Regions from separate parts of the Homo sapiens genome. Here region 2 is linked to region 1. The links are contacts of gene promoters, found by promoter capture Hi-C in human tissues and cell types (Jung and others, 2019). All regions are on one chromosome and are shown on one strand. Each heading gives the region's core, a stretch centred on a gene start or on the middle of the fragment in contact. The rest is flanking DNA. Distances are from core to core; before and after follow the strand shown. Region 1 holds the start of PALM3 (paralemmin 3). Region 2 overlaps ASF1B (anti-silencing function 1B histone chaperone).

What was found. Contacts are between HindIII fragments. The study calls those that stand out against the background at their distance.
Region 2: a fragment that was not itself captured here is called in contact with the fragment with the promoter of PALM3 in region 1 in 3 of the 25 tissues and cell types used here (liver, lymphoblastoid cells and thymus).

What each region holds. Positions count from the first base shown.
Region 1 is chr19:14,060,556-14,066,577 of GRCh38, forward strand. It overlaps PALM3 (paralemmin 3), which reads right to left and starts at 1,521. Exons shown (of 7, transcript NM_001145028.2): 1 at 1,385-1,521. The coding sequence starts at 1,425. RefSeq lists an enhancer at 1,462-2,016. The HindIII fragment of the contact is 26,422 bases long and covers 1-6,022 here.
Region 2 is chr19:14,128,705-14,134,868 of GRCh38, forward strand. The region is part of intron 1 of ASF1B (anti-silencing function 1B histone chaperone); the gene reads right to left. Among named protein-coding and RNA genes, the nearest start is that of ASF1B, 4.8 kb to the right of the region's middle. The HindIII fragment of the contact is 8,412 bases long and covers 1-6,031 here.

The DNA of each region.
Region 1 (6,022 bases), core at 271-2,770:
TATGGATGGGAAAACTGAGGTTCTGAGAAGTGGCAGCAGTGTCCAAGGTCATGGAGCCAAGATCAGAACTTGAAGCTATCAGATCCAAAATACTGAGAACACAGCTGGCGAGGGGGGTGGGGGTGCAGGTCTAGGAATCCCCATCAAGGTAGCTAAGAGAGCAGCCTGGAGACCCTGAATGCTGTTTGGGGCAAGGAATTGAAGTCATGCTCTTTCTTTTTTTGAGTCGGAGTCTCGCTCTGTCACCCAGGCTGGAGTGCAATGGCTCAATCTCAGCTCACTGCAACCCCCGCTTCCTGGGTTCAAGTGATTCTCCTGCCTCAGCCTCCTGAGTAGCTGAGATTACAGGCGTGCACCACCAAGCCCGGCTAATTTTTGTATTTTTAGTACAGATGGGGTTTCACCATACTGGCCAGGCTGGTCTCGAACTCCTGACCTCAGGTGATCTGCCCGCCTCGGCCTCCCAAAGTGCTGGGATTACAGGCGTGAGCCACCGTGCCCGGCCACGAAGTCATGCTTTGCAAGATATCCCAAAGGAAGCCCAGATTCTGTGCTTATAGGTTTGCCCCTGGGGGAGGGCTGAAGTCCCGTGGTCTCCTGTACCACCCCCAAGATGTAATCTCCCTGCCTCTTCCTTGCTGGGGGGGATCGGGTTCCCATTGCTAAGCAACCAGGTTTGTAGTTGGTGAATAATGCAATGGAGGACCTAGAAGGGTGAGGAACCGAATTGGGGTCCCTAGTGTGGGGGGAAGCCCCTTTTCCAAAACTCTTTCCAAACCTCTGAAGCCCCCTCTACCCTTTTAACCTTAAAAAACTCTCACCCCTCAGCTATGAAAAGACTTCACACACCCCATTCCATCTTGCTTATCTCTAACTAACTCTGGAAGAACAACGTAGGCGGCCTGGGCTTCTGGCCACCCGCAAGAGTTGGTGGCCATTTCATGAAGGAGGTCATCCTTGCAATGTTGCCATTGTCTTTCTCAGGCTGGGAGCTTTTAACTTCTGTTGGATCTCAAGCCTTTTCTCCCACCTTGGACACTGACTTTAGGGGCAAAACGTGGAACCCAGTGACCCTGACCTTCCCCACTCCCTGCACCACAGCAGTAGCCCCACCCCCTGGCTGGACTTTGGGTTCTCAGCCCTGGCAGCGGAAAATCCCCGAAGAGGAAGGGGCAGGGGGAGCCTATATCTCTCTCCCACCCCTTGACTCTTTAAGGAAGGGTGACACTGATGAGCCTATGGGGTTGGCTAGCCAACCCCTCCACTCCCCGGGTCCCCTTAGGAGAGACCACTGGAGCTCTCGGCTCCCAGACAAGGCCAGCATCCCCCATGAGCCCCTCCCAAGGCCCTGCCCACCAGCCCCCCTGACCCCCCAGACACTTACATGGGTGTGGCCAGAGACCACACCTGGCTCTGCAGGGCCATCTCTGCCCAGAAGTTCACTTTCTGGTCTCCGAGTTCTGGACCCACCACCCGCTTGCCTGAAGGTGCCCCGGAGGCTGTGACTTGGCTGCCTGGAGTGGGGGGGGGCTGCGGGCGGGCACCGGGAGAGCAGGTCCAGCGGGTTTGGGCCAGGGAGGCGGTAGGCACACCAGAGAGGGGGGCTGGGGGCTGGAGGGCAGTTCTGGGGAGGTACTATCAGCTGTCCTGATAAATTATTCACCAGCCTCTGGCCTCTTTGTTGCACTCAGCTGCCTCCCGGAAAACACTTTCACACACGCGTGGTCAAGCGTGGGGGTGAGAGTACTGAGTCGGTGACTCCCCCTGCCACCAGAGAATGGCATTTCTACTTGGCACCCCAATCATCTTGAGTCTGACTGCCTGCCAAGACTCACCCACAGGAGAGCACCATTGCATAGCACACAGGCTGGAGACTGTTTTATTTTTTTAGAGATGGGGGTCTCACTCTGTTGCCCAGGCTAAAATGTAGTAGTGCGATCATAGCTCACTGCAGTTTCAGACTCCGGGGCGCAAACAATCCTCCCTCCTCGGCTTCTCAAAGTGCTGGGATTACAGGCATGAGCCACCACATCTGGCAGATAACATTTTTTAAAATTATTTTTTAAGAACAGGCACAGTGGTGCATATGTGTAATCCTAGCACTTTGGGAGGCCCAGGTGGGTGGATCACCTGAGGGCGGAGTTCGAGACTGGTCTGACCAACATGGTGAAACCCCGTCTCTGCTAAATACAAAAAAAAACTTAGCCGGGCATGGTGGTGCATGCCTGTAACCTCCGCTACTTGGGAGGCTGAGGCAGAAGAATCACTTGAACCCAGGTGGCAGAGGTTGCAGTTAGCCAAGATCGCACCATTGCACTCCAGCCTGGGCAACAAGAGCAAAACTCTGTCTAAAAAAAAAAAAATTACTTTTTGAGCCAGGCACGGTGGCTCACGCCTGTAATCCCAGCACTTTGGGAGGCCGAGGTGGGCGGATCACGAGGTCAGGAGTTTGAGACCAGCCTGGCCAACATGGAGAAAGCCTGCCTCTGCTAAAGATACACATTAGCCAGGTGTGGTGGCACACCTGTAGTCCTAGCTACTCGGGAGGTTGAGGCAGGAGAATTGCTTGTACCCAGGAGGCGGAGATTGCAGGGAGCTGAGATCATGCCACTGCACTCCAGCCTGGGTGACGGAGCAAGACTCCGTCTGAAAAAAAAAAATTACTTTTTGATCGTGGTAAAATACACATAACAAAATTTACCATTAGTGGCATTTAGTATGTTCACAATATTATGCAATCCTCACCACTGGTTCAGAATATTTTCATCAACCCAAAAGGAAGTGATCACTACTCATTCCCCTGCCTCCCGTGCCTGGCAACCACCAATCTGTGTCCATCTCTATGGATTTGCCTATTCTGGACTTTTTGTTTTTCTTTTTTGTTTGTTTGTTTTTTTAGATGGAGCCTCACTCTATCGCCCAGGCTAGAGTGCGATGGGCACAATCTTGGCTCACTGCAACCTCCACCTGCTGGGTTCAAGCAATTTTCCTGCCTCAGCCTCCCAAGTAGCTGGGATTACAGGCACCCGCCATCACGCCCAGCTAATTTTTGTATTCTTGTAGAGACAGGGTTTCACCATGTTGGCCAGGCTGGTCTTGAACTTCTGACCTCAGGTGATCCATCCTCCTTGGCCTCCCAAACTGCTGGGATTACAGGCGTCAGCCACTGTGCCCGGACTATTCTGGATAGTTCTATAAAAATGGACTCACAGGCCGGGCGCAGTGGCTCATGCCTGTAATCCCAGCATTTTGGGAGGCTGAGGTGGGCGGATTACCTGAGGTCAGGAGTTCAAGACCAGCCTGACCAACATGGAGAAACCCTATCTCTACTAAAAATACAAAATTAGCCAGGCATGGTGGTGCATACCTGTAATCTCAGCTACTTGGGAGGCTGAGGCAGGAGAATCACTTGAACCCGGGAGGCGGAGGTTGCGATGAGCCGAGATCACGCCATTGCACTCCAGCCTGGGCAACAAGAGCGAAACTCGGTCTCAACAAACAAACAAACAAAAGACTCACACACTATGTGGTCTTTTGTGTTTGGCTTCTTTCACTCAGCATCACGTTTTAAAATTTCATCCATGTAGCGTGTATTTATCGTTCCTTAATTCTTTTTTTTTTTTTTTTGAGACGGAGTCTCGCTCTGTTGCCCAGGCTGGAGTGCAGTGGTGCAATCTAGGCTCACTGCAAGCTCCGCCTCCCGGGTTCACACCATTCTCCTGCCTCAGCCTCCCAAGTAGCTGGGACTACAGGCGCCCGCCAACACACCTGGCTAATTTTTGTATTTTTAGTAGAGACGGGGTTTCACTGTGTTAGCCAGGATGGTCTCAATCTCCTGACCTCGTGATCCACCCGCCTCGGCCTCCCAAAGTGCTGGGATTACAGGCATGAGCCACCGTGCCCAGCCCCCTTAATTCCTTTTTTATGGCTGAATAATATTTCATCATATGAGTATACTATATTTTGCTGATCCATTTATCCATTGATAGACATTTGAGTTATTTCCACCTTTTGGAGGAAATAAAATATTCTATTTATTATTTATTTATTTATTTGAGACAGTCTCACTGTGTCACCCAGGCTGGACTGGAGTGCAGTGGTGCGATCTTGGCTCACTGCAACCTCTGCCCCCCAGGTTCAAGTGATTCTCCTGCCTCAGACTCCTGAGTAGCTGGGATTACAGGCATGCGCCACCATGCCTGGCTATTTTTTGTGTTTTTAGTAGAGGCGGGTTTCACCATATTGGCCAAGCTGGTCTTGAACTCCTGACCTCAAGTGATCCACCCCCCAAAGTGCTGGGATTACAGATGTGAGCCACCACATCCAGCCTATTTAATTGTTTGTAGATTGATTTTATAACTGTTAAATATTTAGATGTTGGAGCCAGGCATGGTGGCTCATGCCTGTAATTCCAACTACTCGGGAGGCGGAGGCAGGAGGATTGCTTAAGCCCAGGAGGTTGAGGCTGCAGTGAGTTGTAATCACGCCACTGCACTCCAGCCTAGGTGACAGAGCAAGACCCTATCTCAAATAATAATAATAATAAGGCATTATTCTAGGCATGGGGGCATTGGGTATAGAGATGAACTAGACAAACAGAAAATGCTATTATGCAGCTCACTTTCTCGTATGGGGAGAGAGACAGATAATACACAAATAGAAAGAAATATAAAAGCAATTGGTGCCGGGTCTGGTGGCTCATGCCTGTAAACCCAGCACTTTGGAAGCCCGAGCAGGCAAATCACCTTAGGTCAGGAGTTCGAGACCAGCCTAGCCAACATGGCGAAACCCCCGACTCTACTAAAAATACAAAAAATTAGCCGGCCATGCACCTGTAATCCCAGCTACTCAGGAGGCTGAGACAGGAGAATTGCTTGAACCTGAGAGGCAGAGGTTGCAGTGAGCCGAGATGGTGCTACTGCACTCCAGCCTGGGCAACAGAGCAAGACTCCTTCTCAAAAAAAAAAAATAATAAAAAGAAGGCTGGGGCCAGGCACGGTGGCTCACGCCTGTAATCCCAGCACTTTGGGAGGCCGAGGCAGGCAGATCATGAGGTCAGGAGATCGAGACCATCCTGGCTAACATGGTGAAACCCTGTCTCTACTAAAAAATACAAAAAAAAAAAGAAATTATCCAGGCATGGTGGCGGGCACCTGTAGTCCCAGCTACATGGGAGGCTGAGGCAGGAGAATGGCATGAACCCGGGAGGCAGAGCTTGCAGTGAGCCGAGATCATGCCACTGCACTCTAGCCTGGGTGACAAAGCGAGACTCCCTCTCAAAAAAAGAAGAAGAAGAAGAAGGCTGGGCGCGGTGGCTCATGCCTGTAATCCCAGCACATCGGGAGGCCGAGGTGGGTGGATCATGAGGTCAGGAGTTCAAGACCAGCCTGGCCAACGTGGTGAAACCCCGTCTCCACTAAAAATAGAAAAATAAGCCAGCCGCGGTGGTGCCACCAGTAATTCCAGCTACTCGGGAGGCTGTGGCAGAAGAATTGCTTGAATCCTGGAGGCAGAGATTGCAGTGAGCCAAGATCGCGCCACTGAACTCCAGCCTGGTTGGCAGAGTGAGACTTTTTGTCAAAAAAAAAAAAAAAAAAAAAAAAAGAATAAAATAAAAATGAAAGCAATTGGTGGCAACTGCAATTGGGGGTGAGTTATTGAGAATACCTGAAATGGGGCTAAAGAAGGAGTGCTCTTGTAGGCTGGGTTATCAGAGACCACTTCCCTGAAGAAGTGACATTTGAGGTGAGACCTGAATAGAGGAACCAGCCATGTGACTGTCATTTCAAGCAGAGAAAACAGCAGTGCAAAGACCCTGAGGTGGGAATGCAGTTGGGGGAGGGGTTAAGGGAAGTACGAAGCTGAAATGAAGTGACACAAGGTGACAGTGTGAGAAGATATGACCTGAGAAGTGGGCAGGGCCTGCTGGGGCAAGGTAGAGAATTCGTATTTTTATTCTAAATTTGGTGGGAGCCTTTGTTTTATTTGTATTATTATTATTGTTTTAGAGATGGTGTCTTAC
Region 2 (6,164 bases), core at 576-3,075, 68 kb after region 1:
CCGCCTTGGCCTCCCAAAGTGCTGGAATTTGTCTGAGCCATCATGTCCAGCCTGTTGATTTATTTTTGTTACAAGTAGTGACACAACTGGAATCAAGTTTTGGGGGAAGACAGAAAAGCCAGCCAGCCCTGCTCTCTCCTTTCTAAAGCAGTTGTATCATTTTGGTGTATATCCTTGAGCCCTTTCCTCTCATAGCCGGTAGAATCCTGTACGGGTGCATTTAATTCATGTCCTGGGAAGGTAGACAAAAAAGACTAAAGTGTACCCACGAGCACCTGATGTTGTCCAGCTGAGGTCAATACTAATCGGCAAAACCTAAACAAAGAGCATGTGGAAACTCACCGAAATAAATGGGCCCCTGCAACATAGGCAGACTCGACTCTATTAAAAATCAACAAAATTAATTGGGTGTGGTGGCGCGTGCCGGTGGTCCCAGCTATGCGGGAGGCTAAGGTTGGAGGATCGCTTGAGCCTAGGAGTTCAGGGCTGCAGTGAGCCATGATCGAGCCACTGCATTCCAGCCTGGACGACAGAGACCCTATCTCAAAGGAAAAAAAAGAAAAAGAAAAAATGTACTGTGTTGACTGTCAGGCACAGGGGCTGAAATGGCTCTTTCAACCAGGGCTGGAAAGAAACTGGAGAATTAACTAACGGCTGTAGAGAAATACTGACTCAAGAGTTACAGAAGCTGGTTGGGCACGGCAGCTCACACCTGTAATCCTAGCACTTTGGGAGGCCGAGGCAGGCAGATTGCCTGAGCTCACGAGTTCGAGACCAACCTGGGCAACATGGTGAAACCCCATCTCTACTAAAAATATAAAAATTTAGCTGGGCATGATGGTGTGCACCTGTAATTCCAGCTACTCAGGAGTCTGAGGCATAAGAACTGCTTGAACCTGGGAGGCAGCAGAGATTGCAGTGAGCCGAGATTTTGCCACTGCACTCCAGCCTGGGCAACAGAGCCAGCCTCCGTCAAAAAAAAAAAAAAAAAAAAAAAAAAAAAAAAGAAGAAAGAAGGAAAGAAAGGAAGAAAAAAAGAGTTATAGGTATAGGGCCAGGTGAGGTGGATCATTGGATCATGGCTGTAATCCTAGCACTTTGGGAGGCTGAGGCGGGTGGATTGCTTGAGCTCAGAAGTTCGAGATCAGCCTGGGCAACATGGTGATACAAAAAATACAAAAAATTAGCCAGGCGTGGTGGCATGCCCCTGTAGTCTCAGCTACTCGGGAGGCTGAGGTTGCAGTGAACTGAGATCGTGCCTCTGCACTCCAGCCTGGGTGACAGAGTGAGACTCCATCTCTACTAAAAATATAAAAAATTAGCTGGGCGTGGTGGTGTGCACCTGTAATTCTAATTTATTTTATTTTATTTTGACATGGAGTCTCACTCTGTTGCCCAGACTAGAGTGCAGTGGCACGATCTCGGCTCACTGCAAGCTCCGCCTCCCGGGTTCATGCCATTCTTGTGCCTCAGCCTCCTAATCAGCTGGGACTACAGGCACCCCCCACCACGCCCGGCTAATTTTTTTTTCTATTTTTAGTAGAGACGGGGTTTCACTGTGTTAGCCAAGATGGTCTCGATCTCCTGACCTTGTGATCCGCCTGCCTTGGCCTCCCAAAGTGCTGGGATTACAGGCATGAGCCACTATGCCCAGTCGAGAATCATCTTAAATTTGCTGAAGTGCCCAGGCATGGTGATGTGCACCTGTGGTTCCAGCTACTTAGGAAGCTGAGGTGGGAGGACTGCTTAAGCCCAGGAGTTCAAGTCCAGTCTGGGCAACATAGTGACACCCTATCTCTTTAAAAAAAAAAAAAAAAATCTGGCTGCAGTGTTATAAGTAGAGACATACGTGTATGATTTCATCTCTAAATATAATCTTTCTTTAGAATTATACATGGGACACAAATCACCAATACAGCAGGAACTCATAGCTATGAGTACAGGACACAGCTGTACACATGACGTGTGTACCTAACCTTCTGAGCAATGTCAAGGCAACTCAACTGTGTCCCATGTTATCTCTCTGCGCTAACTTCACAAGCTAGTCCCTGTGCAAGACATACCTCCACTGTGTGTTTGTGTGTATATATATATATATATATATATAAATGATAAGACTAAAGACATGTACACAATTAGTATAGCTGAACTAGCTAAAAAGTCTGCTTCCTGCTTTTTTGTTGTTGTTTTTTTGAGACAGTCTTGCTCTGTCGCCCAGGCTGGAGTGCAATGGCGCAATCTGGGCTCACTGCAATTTCCATCTCCCGGGTTCAAGCGCTTCTCCTGCCTCAGCCTCCCAAATAGCTGGGACTACAGGCACCTGCCACCAAGCCTGGCTAACTTTTGTATTTTTAGTAGAGACAGGGTTTCACCACATTGGCCAGGCTGGTCTCAAACTCCTGACCTCAGATGATCCACCTGCCTTGGTCTCCCAAAATGCTGGGATTACAGGGGTAAGCCACTGTGCCTGGCCATTTTTTTTTTCTTTTTTTTTTTTTGAAACAGAGTCTCGCTCTGTCACCCAGGTTGGAGTGCAGTGGCACAATCTCAGCTCACTGCAACCTCTGCCTCCCGGGTTCTAGCGATTCTTCTGCCTCAGCCTCCTGAGTAGCTGGGATTATAGCTGCGTGCCACCATGCCTGGCTAATTTTTGTATTTAGTAGAGCCGGGGTTTCACCACGTCGGTTAGGCTGGTCTCGAACTCCTGACCTTGTGATCCATCCGCCTCGGCCTCCCAAAGTGCTGGGATTACAGGTGTGAGCCACCACACCTGGCTTTTTCTTTTTTTTTTTTTTTGAGATGGAGTCTTGCTTTGTTGCCCAGGTTGGGGTGCAGTGGTGCAATCTCGGCTCGCTGCAAGCTCTGCCTCCTGGGTTCACGCCATTCTCCTGCCTCAGCCTCCCGAGTAGCTGGGACTACAGGCGCCCGCCACCACACCCGGCTAATTTTTTGTATTTTTAGTAGAGACGGGGTTTCACCATGTTGGCCAGGCTGGTCTCGAACTTCTGACCTCAGGTAATCTGCCCGCCTTGGTCTCCCAAAGTGCTGGGATTACAGGCGTGAGCCACCATGCCAGGCCTCCTTTGTTTGTTTGCTTTTTGCCTTTGTTCATAATCAAAGATGAGCTCTGCTGCCATAACAACTTCGTTATTTCTGGGTCAGAACATCTGGCTTCTATGACTTATTCAACCAGTGTCTGTTGAATTTCTCAGCTAAATGTGGAAGAATCTATTTCCAGATGTGGAAGATAAAAGTGCAAAGGGGGCTTGGGGCCCCTGAGAAATAGGGGTCACCCAACTGGGGCTTAGGGGTTAGGGTGGTTTTTTTTTTTTTTTTTTTTGAGATGGGGGTCTTGCTCTCTCACCCAGGTTGGAGTGCAGTGGTGCAATCATGGCTCACTGCAGCCCTGACCTCCTGGGCTCATGCAATCCTCCCACTTCAGCCTCCTGAGTAGCTGGGACCACAGACACGTGCCACCAAGTCCCGTTAATTTTTTGATGTTTCTGTAGAGACAAGGTTTTGCTATGTTACCCAGGCTGGCCCAAATTCCTGGGCTCAAGAGATCCTCCTTCCTTAGCCTCCCAAAGTGCTGGAATTACAGGCATGAGCCACCTCACACAGCTGGGTTGGGGGTTTTGTCAGATTTTCAGTTGACGCTGCTGAGAGTGAGGCAGATTCTCCCTTTTTCATGGAGAGGAGTCCAGAAGGAGGCAGAAAGCAAGCTGGCAGATCAGTCACAGAGAGCCCTAGGACTGGAAGAGCCAGGATTTCTCACTTGAGTTACTCAAAGGAAAAGCTTTATCATCCAGGTACAATTAACAATAGCATTCTCTGGCCAGGCGCTTAGGATTCAAAGTGTAATCCCAGCACTTTGGGAGGCTGAAGTGGGCATATCACTTGCGATCAGGTTTGAGACCAGCCTGGCCAACATGGTGAAACCTCGTCTCTACTAAAGACACAAAAATTAGCCGGGCATGGTGGCTCAAGCTTGTAATCCCAACTACTTGGGATACTGAGGCCGGAGAATCGCTTGAACTCGAGAGGTGGAGATTGCAGTGAGCTGAGATTGCACCACTGCACTGTAGCCTGGGTGACATAGTGAGATTCCATTTCTAATAATAATCATCATCATCATCATAATCATACGACGGGCACGGTGGCTCACGCCTGTAATCCCAGGCCGAGGCGGGCGGATCACAAGGTCAGGAAATCGAGACCATCCTGGGTAACACAGTGAAACCCCGTCTCTACTAAAAATCCAAAAAGTTAGCTGGGCATGGTTTCGGGCGCCTGTAGTCCCAGCTACTTGGGAGATTGAGGCAGGAGAATGGCGTGAACCCGGGAGGCGGAGCTTGCAATGAGCCATGATCACGCCACTGCACTCCAGCCTGGGTGACACAGCGAGACTCCATCTCAAAAATAAATAAATAAATAAATAAATAAATAAATAATAATAATAGCACTTCCCTTCACTGCATTTTGAGTGTCCTGATTAGGCAATAAATTCTGTGGTCATTCCTATCTATGCTCCACCCCTGAAACAGGGAATCCTTCCTTTCTTTCCCTGGATTGGAGCAAAGATAAAGAATTTAGATTCAAAACTTCAGTGCCAATACTTCTACAAACTGGCTGTGTGACTCTGGTGAAGTCACTCCATTTCTATTAAAAAATGATCAGCAGAGGCTGGACGCAGTGGCTCACGCCTGTAATCCCAGCACTTTGGGAGGCTGAGGCGGGCGGATCACCTGAGGTCAGGAGTTCAAGACCAGCCTGGCCAAGATGGTGAAACCCCGTCTCTACTAAAAATACAAAAATTAGCCAGGCGTCATAGCAGGCACCTGTAATCCCAGCTGCTCGGGAGGCTGAGGCAGGAGAATCGCTTGAATCTGGGAGGTGGAGGTTGCAGTGAGCCAAGATCGCGCCATTGCACTCCAGCCTGGGGGACAAGAGCAAGACTTCATCTCCAAAAAAACAAAAAAAGGACCAGCAGGTTGAATTTAGCCCTTCCGGCTCTAATTCTATAAATAAGTTAGTAAAGTCACAGGGCAGGGGCTTCCTAGGAGTAGAAGTACCAGATAATGACCGCACAACCATTTTTTTTTTTTTTTTTTTTTTTTGAGACGGAGTCTCGCTCTGTCGCCCAGGCTGGAGTGCAGTGGCGCGATCTCGGCTCACTGCAAGCTCCGCCTCCCGGGTTCACGCCATTCTCCTGCCTCAGCCTCCCGCGTAGCTGGGACTACAGGCGCCCGCCACCACGCCCGGCTAATTTTTTGTGTTTTTTAGTAGAGACGGGGTTTCACCGTGTTAGCCAGGATGGTCTCGATCTCCTGACCTCGTGATCCGCCCGCCTCGGCCTCCCAAAGTGCTGGGATTACAGGCGTGAGCCACCGCGCTCGGCCACAACCATTTTTAAATGCAAGGAACACAAACAGGCTGATTGAAACCTGATCTCCTGCCGTCGGGGAGCTGGGAATCCCTCAACCTATTACTTCCTTCCATCTCCTCCTGGCTTTTAAATTAAATCTTATTCCACAGCGTCATTCTACACTTTATTTATTTATTTACCCGCTGCCTTGTTCCAGAAAGGATTTAACTCGGCATATTCTATAGTTAGCCACAAGTAGACTCCTTAATTTAAAAAGGAGCGAGAGAGACCGGGGAGAGACAGACCCACTGGCCTACCCAAAGCACATCCACATCTCACTCTATCAGCTCCAAGCTAGTCCAGGCGACCAGCTTTGAGGGCAAAACACCTACCTGCCCCCGAGAGGCACTAGTTAGCATATCCTGGCTTCACAGGCCCCCAGATCACCACCTCCTCGGCTGCTGCCTTTTCTCTTTCAACCACCAAGTAGAAAAATGGCCTAATGGAGTACTTCTTCCTGAAAGCAGGACTTGCCTGTTAGTGGTGCCAAGGCTCCCTAGGTGACCTTAGATTTTGGATTTGTACAGGCCTTGACTTGAAAGGTCTTTTGCGTTTTGTGGCTCCTGTCTTCTCATCTGTGAGATGAGAGCCATGCCCACCTTTAAGTCACACAGATTAATAAGTACATCTACGGAAGCACCTTGGAAAAGATGTACAGGAGGCTGTGACCTCCAAGCTCCAGCCGACTGTTTGAAGCTGGAGCCCGTCACAGCTCAGCCCAATCCACCCACCCCCCAGA